Regions from separate parts of the Homo sapiens genome. Here region 1 is linked to region 2. The links are contacts of gene promoters, found by promoter capture Hi-C in blood cells and fetal thymus (Javierre and others, 2016). All regions are on one chromosome and are shown on one strand. Each heading gives the region's core, a stretch centred on a gene start or on the middle of the fragment in contact. The rest is flanking DNA. Distances are from core to core; before and after follow the strand shown.

Region 1 (6,622 bases), core at 2,706-5,205, 330 kb before region 2:
ATAACATTTTTAATGACTGTGGAATAGTCCATGAGCAAGATTTGCCATGGTAGTTTAGTCGGACACTCACGGCATACCAAGCACAAGCAAAGCGTCGATTGAGTCACCTGCCCAGAGCCATATAGCTAGTGAGTGGCACAGTCAAGATGCAACCTCAGGTGTCCTAAAACAAAACCCCTGCTCTTAGTCTGTGCTAGGCCACCTTCCTATTCTAGGTTAATGCTTATTTAGTTTGCTTGTTGAGTTGCTTGTGCACACATGTATATATGTGTGTCTCTATGTGTGTTTTAATAGTAGCAACACTGAGAAATAGTAAAAACCTGCTAATTTGCAAGTTCAAATTGGTATGCTTGCCAGATCCCTGGTAACTGTTTACTCCCTGTCATCACAGGTTCATGTAGTATTGAAACTCTGGAAGAGTGGATTCAGCCTGGATAATGGAGAACTCAGAAGCTACCAAGACCCATCCAATGCCCAGTTTCTGGAGTCTATCCGCAGAGGGTGAGTGAAAAAGCCCTCCTGTAGGTCCCAAATCAGTGAGTGGATAGCAGTTGGGAAAGGAGGAGGCAGAATGTTTATTATTTGAGGAGTAAATTGTTTGAAGCAGATTCAGCATAGTTGAGATACGGATTCATAGATCTGCTCCAAAAACCTTGTATGTCCATTTTTCCCCTTTGGGCCTGAGGCAGACCTAAGTGGCCAAATAAGAAATAGGTGTCGGCCATGGCTGAACAAACAAGAGAAAAGGTGGAGGCAGACAGGTAGCCACCAGAGTAGCCTGCTCCCTTTGGAGGCCCAGCGATTTTTCACCACGGGACTGAGAGGTTTCTTCTCCCCTTTTCCCATCACTGTCATTTCCATCTTCTCTCTGTGGACCTCAGCATGGCCTTTTCTTCCACAGGGAGGTGCCAGCAGAGCTTCGGAGGCTAGCTCACGGTGGACAGGTGAACTTGGATATGGAGGACCATCGGGACGAGGACTTTGTGAAGCCCAAAGGAGCCTTCAAAGCCTTCACTGGCGAGGGTCAGAAACTGGGCAGGTAAGGGGCAGCACAGGTTAGAGCCAGACTCTGTCAATCACACCTGCCAAGCCCAGCAGACCCTGTGTATCACTCACTTTGGTTATTAGCTCTTTACTGTTTACAAAATACTTCAAATTTTATTTGTATGGGAGGAAGAGTGTGGAGAACATGGACTGGAGTTAACAGACCTGAGTTTATATCTCTGCTTCACTTTCTAGCAGTGTGACCTTGGACTATATAGCCTCAGTTTCCTCAACTATAAATTGGTACTAATAAGAGTCCATACCTCCTAGGATTATTGTTGCAAGGAATAAGTGAGCTGATGCATGTAGAACACTGTTCCATAGTGAGCAGTCAATGTAAGCAGAAAGTGTACGTAATTGCTGCTGTGGCTCAGTAATCTAGGGTGTTCAGGGAAGGTGTCATCTCCTTGATGGCTTAAGGCTGAAATGAGGATTCCAAGGGGAATAAGAAATTACAGACTCTTGCCTAGCCAGGCCTCACAGTGTGTTGCTCAGGATGCAGGGACACTCAGGAACCTTGCTGCCCCTTTGCAGGCTGGTGTGCCACCATTATGACAGCTCAGCAGCTCTTATTTCTACTTATTTGGCCCTTCCTGACACTCACTCTGCCACTTGTGACTTTTTCTGCATTGTGTCCTCTGCTACTGCCTTCTCACTCCTGTACCCTCTACTAACAGACATTCTCTATCTTCCATTCAAAGCCTCTGATGATATCTGATTGGTTAATAGTCACTGGTATCCCTCATACGGTTCTCCCACCAGACTCTTGGCCAGCCCATAGGTAGGCTGCCTTCTCTCAGGATCCACTTAGCTTTGGCCATGGCCATGGGGTCACCTGATGAGTGTTCTTCAGAGGGAACTGTGCACATGATAGGCATTTAGAGCATAGTGACCCTCCTTGCCAATATGATCCTTATTTTGTAGAGAGAAAGCTGAGGCTCTTGGATATTAGGGGCCTTTCCTTGGGCACATGGCTGGTGTGTGTTAGAGCCAAGACCCCAGGCCTTCTGACTGGCATTCCTTCCTGCACTCCTGCACAATGAGACATCCTTTCTAACCTAGATCTGGCAGTTCTCAAAGTAGCTACTGCCCTTGCTCACCTCACTATCTTCAGAGATCAAAGCTTGGTCTTCCAACAACCATGCCCTCTGAGCTTCTGGCTGGCCCTCTCCTGGAATCCCTTACCTGCCTGTTGACCATTCATGCCTCATCAGGAGCAAGGGTCAGAGTTCAGGGTATTAGATTTACCTGGCCCAAAGTAGTTAAGTCATCCCTGTTCTCATCATTTCATCTACTGCATCAAGGGCTGTGGACTAGCCCAGGACAGCTATTCTCACAGAGAGTGTCCCTGTCAGTTGTGATGAGCTTTATAGGGCACCTAATTTTTTTTTTCTTTGATTATTAAAATAATACATGTTCATCTTAATAGAAAGTGCAGGTAAAGAATAAAAGCTGTCCTGAAGCTAACACCCAGAAATATCTGGCAAGTGTATCTTTCTTCTCTTACTCATTTGCATGTATTTGTAAACATGCTGTTGTATCACCTGCTTTTTACTTTATCAGTGAAGTATGGCTATCATCCTTTATCAGTAAGCTTATTTCTACACTTTTAATTATAATGCTTACATAATTTTCTAGCCCATAAATGTGCCATAATTTAACCAGTCCTTGCTGTTAAACATTTAGGCAGCTACCAGAATTACAACATTGCAGTGAATATCTCTGTGATTAAATCTTTGTACACTTGGGCTAGACATATGATTATTGTTTCAAAAGGGCTTCATACTTTTAAGATGTCAAATTGCCCTTCAAAAAGGCTATATTTTTTATGCCCACCACCAGTTACAAGGGAGGGCTCAGAACTTCAGAACACCATGCACTTTGGGTATGATTTTATAATACTAACAGGAAATGTTTCTATTGGAAAGTCTAACCATATTATGTGTGTGAAACTCTGCATCTCAGAAAATTAAAATATCTTTAAAGTCTATTTTAGCATGATAGGAATAAATATTAATGTGGAGAATGAGCACAAGATAGAACTTGATATCACCATGATGTTTATCAACAAAGTGTTCACTGCCAGTTCCACTTGCATTTTATTTCAGTTCTGGCTTTTTATGAAAACTTAGCTTAAAAAAAAAACAGCCACAGTTTTATAAAGTTAAGTGAGATGGGACTTTAGCTTTTCAGTCTAAATCAGGACAGCTGCTTTAGTTTTTCTCATAAATTTTACTATGTTTTTCATTGTCTTGTGAACCAAAATGATCAGAAGCCAAAAGTCTTGAACTTTTCTTGAAATTTTTCCTGAAAATTTTCTCAGATTTGCTTCAAAAATCAGTCAGTACTGGGCTTTTTCAAAATCTTAATTATCTGGGAAAATACTTCAAGTGAATGAATAAGTTGTCTCAGTTAAAATATTTTGAGAAAATTCAGTTGTATTAAATTTTTTTTGTTGTTTTAGTAAAAGGCAAAAGATGTATACAATCTGAAGAGAAACCGGAGAATTTTGTTGTTGTTTTAGGTTTTACGTTAGTTTGTTTGAGTTGGGAGCTGATCTGAAGGTTCGAATTGCAAACAGCAAGAGTGCACTTGGGAGGAGGGGTCACTGCTGCTGGAAGTGAGCTTTAGCTGCTCCCGTGCCTTCTGTAGTGGTTATTTTTGTGGAGAAGATGGCTGGTCTCAGGATTTGTAACTGTGGCAAGAAAGTACCTAGTGCCAGTTTATTCCCCCTGTAAAGATAGGAGGAGTTGGGTGATTCGGGCTCTTGAATTGAGACTCATTTTCCCCATAACTTACGATGTTTGCAGGGAGACACCAAAAAACACTATTTATAGACGTCTGCTCTAACCTTTCCTGCCTGTGAATCAAGCACCCTCACAGCTGCAGATGGCCAGCCGCTCACTGGGAGCAGTAGCCCAGCTGTTGGCAGTTCTCAGGAAGAGCTGGCAGGCCAGCTCCTTTGAACAGATGCGTGTGGCTGCCCTGCGGGATGATTAGAGCACTATGGAACTAATATTCTTTGAATGATGTGCTCTTATTATTTGAAAAATCAGGAGGCCTGGTCTTCAGGTTTCCCCTCCTCTTCCACTCCCCATCCTCCTTGAGAGCAGTATAGACTGGGAATGCCTGTCAGGTGACCTTCCACTTACAGCCCATGGCAGCTGATAGCATTTCTAGTCGATTTTGGTCCAGAATTGAGGCAAATATAAGTGGGGCAGGACCTTGAAGAATGATATAATTAGTTAGTCGAGTGTTTTATGTTGTTAGCTAAGCGCTATGCTAAGTATTTCATTTATTTTATCTTCTTTAATCCTGTTTTAATCCCCATTCTACAAAGAAGGATCCTGAGACTTGGTGAGATCCATATTGCTGGCCAGTGCAGAGCTGGGTCCCTCCAGTCTCTGCCTTTACCTGCCAACCTGCATAGCATCCTGGATATTCTTGCATAGCCACATAGACATTTGTTTGTACTTTTAGTATGTGTTGGGTACAGTGCATGTTTTTAGCTATTTTCTCAAGTATCTGGGAAGTTTTAACTCTGTTTTATTGATGAGGAAACTGGGTCTTGAAATCCAGGCCTATACCTGTCTGAGTGTAAGGCCCAACAGGAGAGTGGGACAGTGTGAAGAGCACAGGATGGAGAGCCAAATAGCTCGGATTGTATACTGCCTCTACCGTGAACCAACACTGGGATTTTGGGCAAGTTGCTTCACCCTGCTGTGCCTCAGTTTCTTCATCTGTAATGAATCCCTACCTCATAGGCTGGGGGTTAAGCCTGTGGGTTAAGTAAGTTAATACATGTGAAGTACTCAGCACAGGGCCTGGCTTAGGAATGGGTGCCTCATAAATAGTCACCATGTTTATCAGGCCACCCTGCCTCACCTAATTTTTAGGGAGTGTGTAAGAGAAACAGCCAGTCAGAAGCTACACAGCCAAGTCCAGGCATCAGGCTTTCCTCATCTCTTCCAGTGATGACCCACCAGCAGTCTGCAATGGGACGTGCTGGGAAGCAAACCCAAACAGCAGCTGCTTCCTTGTGTGGAGGATTTCCTAAATACCAGGCCTTGCGTGCACATTATCTCGTCTCATCCTCACAACAGAACAGCTCCTCATTTTACACACAAAGACACTGAAGCCCTGGGAAGTTGTGACTTGCTTAAGGCCACACTGTCTGTTTAGAGGCAGAGCAGAGGCCAAATGGTGGTGGCTCAGCTCCAAAGCTTGTGCCATTTCTCTGGCATCACACCAACTCTCCTTGATAATAGGGACAGTAGGGACTGCTTCCCCAAAAGGCGTGGAGCTGTGGTAAGGAGAGTATCTCCACTTTATAGAAAAGGAAATTGAGGTGCCAAGATGCTCAGTAACTTGCTGAGGGTCATCAGCTCATAAGTGAGGAGTGAAACTCAAGGAGAAGTTTGAGAAAGCATTTCCAATATAAATATTATTTTTCTAAAACCATCGTAATTGTAAAGCTTGACAAAATCCTGGCTGGTGGGAATACACAGAATATATACTGAAAGGAGGCTTGTTCATTGCATTAGTTTTTAAAAATGATCCATAGCGTGTGTGTGTGTTTTCTCATCTATAAAATGGAGATACACCCCTCTCAGAGGATGGTTGTGGTGATTCAGCGAGGTCGTGGCTGTGAAAGCCCCTTTAGACAATACCTGCACAGAGTCGGTGTAAATGTCACTCCTGTTTTTTCTGCTCCCCACCCCCTTAACTGATATCAGCTATTTTGGCTTAACAGCTTCTTTCTCATCTTAGGCCTGCCTGAAAACGTTATAGTTCCCTTTCTGGCAGGCGGTGGTTTCAATGAGTACGTATACTTTGAATTATTATAAATAGTTGAGGGACAGGCTGCCTAAAGTCTAATTGGAGAGTTAACCTAATGTCTGTGAAACTAATGAACAAAACGAGATAGTGTAGATCAGGAATGTCCAGTCTTTTGGCTTCCCTGGGCCACTTTGGAAGAATTGCTTTGGGCCACACATAAAATACACTGATACTAATGATAGCTGATGAGCTAACAACAACAAAAAGCAAAAAAAAAAAAAAACTCATAACATTTTAAGAAAGTTTACAAATTTGTGTTGGGCTGCATTCAAAACTGTCCTGGGTCGCATACGGCCCATGAGCCATGGGTGGTTGGACAAGCTTGGTGCAGAGCTTAGGCATTTACAGGTATATGAGATTTACCTATTCACTATTTCCAATCAACTCTTGTGGCCTATCGTAGTGTCATTTAAACTGTGTGTCCCAGCCCACACTTTTTGAGTCCCACATGCTTTGAGGCTGATGCAGAGAAGCAGCTTCTCTAGTGCTAGTAATGTGGGTGACATTCTCCTCTGAGCTCTACTTTGTAATTCTGTAAGTCCATGTTTTTCACATTCACAGAAAAGAGTAAGTTTGCTTTTCAGTCATTCTTTAATTATATGCTTCAGGGCAATATTTAACTGTGCAATCTCTCAAAACCTTTAATGTGCCAATGGCCTCTGAAGCTGCTAGTGTAATATGTGGCCTTTCCTACACCTTCCTTCCTATGGAACACACTTTGGAAAGCACTTTCAGTTGG
Region 2 (6,671 bases), core at 3,668-6,167:
TTCCCCAAAAAATGAGGTTTACACTCCAGTACCACTTATGTAAAAATTTTAAAAAGCACAAAAAAATGCTATAATCTTTTTTCATGGATGTATATTTATATTGCTCACCATGGGGCAGGTGGACTGGGAAGATCTGTAGTCATGAGAATACAGCGGGAGGGAGTGGGACCGGAGATGAAGAAAATGGAAAAGACAAAGGTCCAGCAAAGCAAAACTTCACACACCAAGGACAAGGGGAGACCACACATTGAGAATTGCTGGCCTCTCCTGTTTCGTCACCCCTGGTGCTCAGAAATCCTCTGGGGAAAGAGATCCCAAATAAAATTCAGGATGTCGCAACTGTCATGGTTTAAAACCTGGCTGGATGACAATGAAATTCATAGGCCTGAAGCATAGAAATGAGAGTGAGGAAAAACAAAAGTAAAACTAATCAAACCATTCTTCTGCGAAAAAGAAACTATCCCCTCACCCCAAACTGGGTAAATTTCCCGAATATGTTTAGTGTTTAGTGTCGTGGATTTGTTTACTTTGGAAGCCAGGAATTTGATGACATCCTCATCTTTGCTCTGGCAAACGCCTTTAAATTTATATTATATCCTCCATGTACAGCATTCAATCCACCAGAGTTCTCTCTTGGAATATAAACAATTTGGTCTGCTCACCACCCCATCACCTTTGGCTTCCAGAGTTACAGAAAATCCCTGAAGTCAGGTGAAACTGATATCTCTAACTGCAGTGCAATTGATGTTCCCCAGTAAACAGAGGACAGACCCTGGCGATATCAGGCCAAACATGGTCTGCAACTGCCCTGTAAACCCTGACATCAAATATCAAGAGTCCCAGAAAGCCACAGTTGGAAAGTAGCCTAAGTACACAGTCACGTGGTTTAACTTCCTCTGATGAAAAATCAAAGGCCTGAGGCTGAGCGCGGTGGCTCTTGCCTGTAATCCCAGCCCTTTGGGAGGCAGAGGCAGGCAGATCACTTGCATTCAGGAGTTCGAGACCAGCCTGGCAAACATGGTGAAACCCTGTCTCTACTAAAAATACAAAAAAAATTAGCCAGGCATGGTGGCGGGGACCTGTAATCCCAGCTACTGAGGATGCTGGGGCAGAATTGCCTGAACCCAGGAGGCAGAGGTTACAGTGAGCCAAGATAGCACCACTGCACTCTAGCCTGAGTGACAGAGTGAGACATCTCGGATTAAAAAAAAAAAAAAAAAAAAGAAAAGAAAAAGAAAAAGAAAAGAAAACTCTAAGGCCTGAGATGGTCAGAGAGCTGCCCAAGGTCTCAGCAAGTCAGGTGTAGGGCTGTGCTTGGAATTCAGAGCTCCTGATTGCCCAGGCTATGGCTAGAGAAGGTTTTTCCCAGCCAGGTCCACAAGACTGGCCCTAAGAGAATAAAGATAATTGTCTTCTTAGGCAAAATCCTGGCACTGGAAGCATTCTTTAATGGCCATGAATTTGCCCCAATGCCTCTGAACTAAAATTCACCCAAAGAAACTTAAACAGATCATTTTGGGCATTTTCTCTCTTTCATCATAATCCTTAGATTTCCCACAACAGAAAACAAAATTCTCTAACTTATGTCGATAACCACCTAAGTCATCCCTTACCTATCCCCTTGGCACCCAAACCACTTGACAAAGCTGTAAAGTTCTTGTGAGGAGTGGTTCTGACTTCAAGAAAGAAATCCAAATTCAAGTATTGGATTTTTGTTGAAGCCAGTGGCTGCACTGGTTTTCTAATCAAGTTTTATGTACACAATTCCCCTGTAACAGAGGAAGCAAAACCTAAGAGAAAGCAGACAATCTAGCTTTCCATTTAACTGTCAACTTGTATAGTCAAGCATACACTCTTGGGACCTTCCTCTCCTTCTTATCACCCCCAGAAGGGTGGAAACAGCAGATGGCTGGAGAGGCAACACAAATATCCTCTGAGCTTGGAAAACACAATTGAGTCAGCTGAGTTGGCTGGCCCCAGGCTGAAAAATTAAACCTCTTCTTAAATAAACTAATAGGAAAGATGCCTCTCCAGTTTCCACTCTGAATGAAAGTAGACTCAGCAGAAGCGACAGAAGGACAAGTGCAACCTGAGCCCCAATGGCAATCAAGGAGAAAAGGCAGAGAGAAGCAAAAATACACCACACTCTAGTTTGCAATCCAAACACTCATTCCTTCGGGGGCATGCAAGATTTAGTGCTGGGGTAGATAGAGGAAAGGTGGCAATGCCTTACAAAAACCTAATTCCCCAGGCTCCTGGGCCTCCCCAAAGATGTCTGAAACCAGCATCTTTTTCTGGCCTGCAGAAGCTCAACGAATAGCACCATGAACAGAGAAAAATTAGATGGACCTTGGGGAATTGGTCAAGGACCTTTTTAAAAAAAAAAAAAACTATTAAAATGAGATTGTATTCTTTCTGTACATTTCATCTGAAAATTTTGGAGCCTTGAGTGTATGGCAAGGTGGTAATGCCAGCTAGAAGGTATCGACTTATGTGAACTCATGTCCCTAAACTGTCAAAGTGATTCAGACAGCATGAGTGAGGGTAAGAAATGTAGGAGCAGATCCACAGTGATTGATATTTATTTGTGGAATGGCAAGGAGAGAAGGGTATCAGACACGCCCTCTAGAACAAGTTCCTCAGCAGAGGTGGATGGGGTTCTGACAGTGTGGCAGAGTCTAAGTAGCTAGCTAGGAGTAGGTAAGGGGAGTGAGGTACATGAGGAGGGACAGAGTGCAAAGCAGAGCTGTTCCATCTGAAGGACAAGACAAAGGGCAGGGGGAGCTGAGGGCCAATGGAGGAGATCCCAGGTCAAAATCAAATCTTACTCCTCTTCTCAGCCCCACTGTCCCCTGCACCATCCCACATACCAGTTTCTTTGAAGAATCTAGGAAAAGTTGAAATAAAATGACTGGGGCAAGTGAAGAGCTGCTTAAGATTAAAAAGCTGGAGTAAGACAAGTGGGGAGACAAGATTTCTGTTAGGGGAACTATGCATTGAAAGAGGGGCCTGACGCTGAAATGGGGGTGCTGTCTCTACCTGGTCCCAAGGTCTGAAATGCTGGAAGACATTTGGAAGGTATGTGGAATGAAGAGCAGCACAAAGAGAAAGGTCAGGGACAGATGTGTTTGGGAAGGTGAAATGATTCCTGCTTCCAGGTATGTGTGTGTGAAAGGCTAGCTGTTCTTTTCCATCCTCATATCTAGTCTTAGAGCCCATTTGAGAGATGAAGTATGTGTGAGTTTGGAGGTGGGAATGGGGATCCTGAGTGTGTACCTGGGGTCCCAGTGAGATAATTGAGGTCTGGGGAAAAAAAGAGCCAGAAATCCCTGACGGTTCTTGTGTTCTGATTCCTGCTGGAGGGGGTAAAGTGTGAGAGGGGTATGGTGGTCTTGGTCTTTAGTTCTAAGAGACAGAGAGGAATAGGGACAGCAGTGAGGGGTGGGGGAAAGGGGATACTTGTCTAAGTGCTCAGAATGTACAAAGCAAGTTTGAAGAGAGGTCCCTAAAGCTATGTCAGGAGGGGAGAATTAAGACTCTATTTGAGAAGCTAAAAAAAATGATTAGAGGAGTTGAGAACTGAAGCAGTCAAAAAGGAGAGGAAGGGTGAAATCTCATGGCAAGATGCAATAGGTGGGGTGGTCTGTTTCCCATGGCTAGTCTTGGTTCTGAGAGTGAGAGAACAGTGACAGTGAGGGGCAGGCATGGAGGCAGGCCCACTTCTCCCAGGAAGCAGATGTCTAGGATGATGTGGATGTTGGGGATGAGGGTCACAGGGAAGAGACAGGAAAGAAAGAAGAATGCCAGAGCAAAGAATTAGTGAGGTGGGTTGGGTCCAGCAGTCCTAGAACTCTGTGGGGATGACAACGACGTCCCTAGCTGTAAGAGGTGGAGCCTGGGGATGGGAGAAGAGGGGCTGGCCCTATGGGGACAACTATGAGGAGAAAATCTTATATGACCCTCACACCCAGGGTGTATGTGTGTACGACTCTGGGGGTGATTGCTTCCTAGAGCTTGAGTTGGGGATGGCAGTAGCGAGTGGACTATGCTGGGCCCTTCAGTAAAGGGTGAAAGGCGTGTGAACTCTCTGGGCCCATGCTAACGGGTGAAAAAAGGGCCCTGGCCTGGGGCTGAGTAGGTCAAAGCTCACTCCTGTACCTGTGCTTGGATCCAGATGTTTGGTGGAGGCTCTACTGTGGTATGAGGGCGGAACTGAGTCAGTCCCCTCACCCCGAGGCTGGGTGGTAAGGAGTTCAGACGGGATCAGGTGGGTGAGAAGTGCTCTGGGGAGCTAAACTCCTGTCTAGATTCTTTGCCATTCTATGGAATGCTAGATCCACACAGTCCTGGCCTGAGAGGCTGCCAGGCTGTGTTGAAGCGAGTGTCCGCCCTTGAGTTTACAAATCATGTTGTGCCAGCTGTGCCGTGAGGGACTCTGGGCTGGGATGGGGCAGGTGAGCAACCTCCGACCCGCAGGTTTTACCAACGCTGCCATCTGCCCCAGACCCTGCACTGGGAGAAGCGGGGAAATCGGGCGCTCTGGACCAGGCCTCCGGTACTCTGAGTTTGGGCAGAAGACAGTTCCCTCCTCCACCCTGGCCGGCTCCGTGGCGTACCTGGTCACCGACACCCAAGCCGAAGTAACCGTGTGTCACCACTTCCCAATGCAAGAAGCAGACGAGCGCGTCCTGCCTGCAGGTGATGGCCGGCGCTGCCGATGCGAACAGTACCTCCAGGCCCGCCATGAGCGCCCGCGACTTCGGCGTCTGGAGGAAAGAAGGGGGCGGGGGTAGTGCAGTGAGCCGGCTCCGCGGCCGGGGTAGCTATAACTCTGCTTCCCTCTTGCGCTGGTTCTTGCCGAGTCCACACCTGAGACCAAAATGGAGACGCCCGGGGACGGGGCGGGGCGGGGAAGCCGGAAGTAGTCCCAACAGCGGGCGCAACTGCGTGAGGCGCGCCGGGTTGGCAACGCGAGCGCAGCACTGAAAGGTTCCGCCAGGGAGTGCGAGCGGGGCGTGGCCCCTCAAAGCCGGAAGCCGGGTCTTGGCGGCAGTCGACAGGATCGCCTGACGCGGGCACAGCGTCCTCCAAGAGGCCACCTTGCTGAGAGGCAGACTTCCCATCCACAAAATGGGGTATGCTAGGCCGGGGAAGGGGCTGGGAAATGTGGCTAAAATACATTCTTAATAATCGTTAACACGTTCGCCGTGCTTGCTACCGTCCACATTATTCTAAACGCTTTACTTGTATTCATTTATTTAATCTTCACAACCCAACTCTATGCAGTTGATATTAACGATTAATGTGCCTCATTGCACAGATGAGGAAACTGAGGCGCAGAGGGATAATTTGACCAAGATGACAACAGCCAGCCGGTGAACGGCTGAAATGGTTATGGGAACCTGGCAGTCTGGCTTCTAAGATAACATTTATTAAGTGTTTATTGTGTGCTACATCGTGCGCTAAAACCTTTACATCACCCTCTCAACAACTCTATGAAGTATGGACCGTTATTATCCCCATTTTGCAGATGACAAAACGGCTCAGAGTTGAAACCACTTCTCCAAGGAGACACAACTGCTGCCCGCAGAGCTGAAGCTCCTGACCCACTATCAAATTTCAATCATTTATTTGCCTACCCCCTTTATGATTTTTACCACCCGTTACTTCAACAAGTTTCATGAAATCCACTTATTGTTTTTACCCAAATAAATTTAGTTTCCCCATCCCAGTCACTAACCTGGTTCAAGCTCCTGTCATCTTTCACTTGGATGCCTGGCATCAGCCTCAGAACTGCCCCATTCCATTCCTGTCTCTCTCTAGTCTGTACTGCACTCCGCAACCAGAGAGATTCTGTTAGAAAACAAGTCAGATCGGCCAGGTGTGGCGGCTCATGCCTGTAATCCCAGCACTTTGTGAGGCCGAGGCAGGCGGATCACTTGAGGTCAGGAGTTTGAGACCAGCCTGGCCAACATGGTGAAACCCTGTCTCTACTAAAAATACAAAAATTAGCTGGGTGTGGTGGCGCACGCCTTTAGTCCCAGGTACTCGGGAGGCTGAGGCATGAGAATCAATCGAACCCGGGAGGTGGAGGTGGAGGTTGCAGTGAGCCAAGATCGCACCATTGCACTTCAGCCTGGGCAACAGAGCGATCTTCTGTCTCAAAAAAGAAAAAAAAAAAAAAAGAAAAGTCAGATCACATCCGTTGGCTCAAAATCGTCACACTCAATGGAAAAGTAAAGTCCTCCCCATGGTCTGCAGGAATCTGCATGTGGTCTGCCATCTCCTGCCCCAGCCCTGCCAGCCCTGTACCTCTCTGATTCAGTCTCCTTCAACTGTCCTCTCATCCCCTTTATACGTGCAATAACCTTGGCTCCCCCTCTTCTCTCACATCTACATCTGGTCCAACAGCAAAGCTAGTTGACTCCACTCTCAAAATATATTATGAATCTGACCACTTCCCATCACCTTCACTGCTTCCACTCTGGTCTGATCCTCCAGCATCTCACACTTAGACTATTGCAGTAGCTTCCCAGCCAGTTTCCCTGTTTCATGTGTTCTGTTTGGGCCTTTGCGTTCCTCTTCCTGGAATGCTCTTTTCCCAGATATCTGCATGTCTTGCTTCTTCATTTCAAGTGGCTTCATCCCTCACTCCTACCATCCTCAACAGA

The links. Contacts are between HindIII fragments. The CHiCAGO score rates a contact against its expected background, and 5 or more counts as called.
Region 1: a fragment that was not itself captured here is called in contact with the fragment with the promoter of PSMF1 in region 2 in 1 of 17 cell types (non-activated CD4 T cells); the score reaches 5.1 in non-activated CD4 T cells.

The regions. Positions count from the first base shown.
Region 1 is chr20:1,446,910-1,453,531 of GRCh38, reverse strand. It overlaps NSFL1C (NSFL1 cofactor), which reads left to right. Exons shown (of 9, transcript NM_016143.5): 6 at 392-501; 7 at 902-1,039. Among named protein-coding and RNA genes, the nearest start is that of NSFL1C, 17 kb to the left of the region's middle. The HindIII fragment of the contact is 2,629 bases long and covers 2,641-5,269 here.
Region 2 is chr20:1,116,848-1,123,518 of GRCh38, reverse strand. PSMF1 (proteasome inhibitor subunit 1) reads right to left here and starts at 4,917. Exons shown (of 7, transcript NM_006814.5): 1 at 4,617-4,917. The coding sequence starts at 4,745. It overlaps LOC105372493 (a long non-coding RNA gene), which reads left to right and starts at 5,071. Exons shown (of 2, transcript NR_136535.1): 1 at 5,071-5,135; 2 at 5,531-5,667. RefSeq lists enhancers at 4,645-4,774, 4,815-5,004, 5,015-5,064, 5,075-5,124, 4,524-5,166. The HindIII fragment of the contact is 12,206 bases long and covers 1-6,671 here.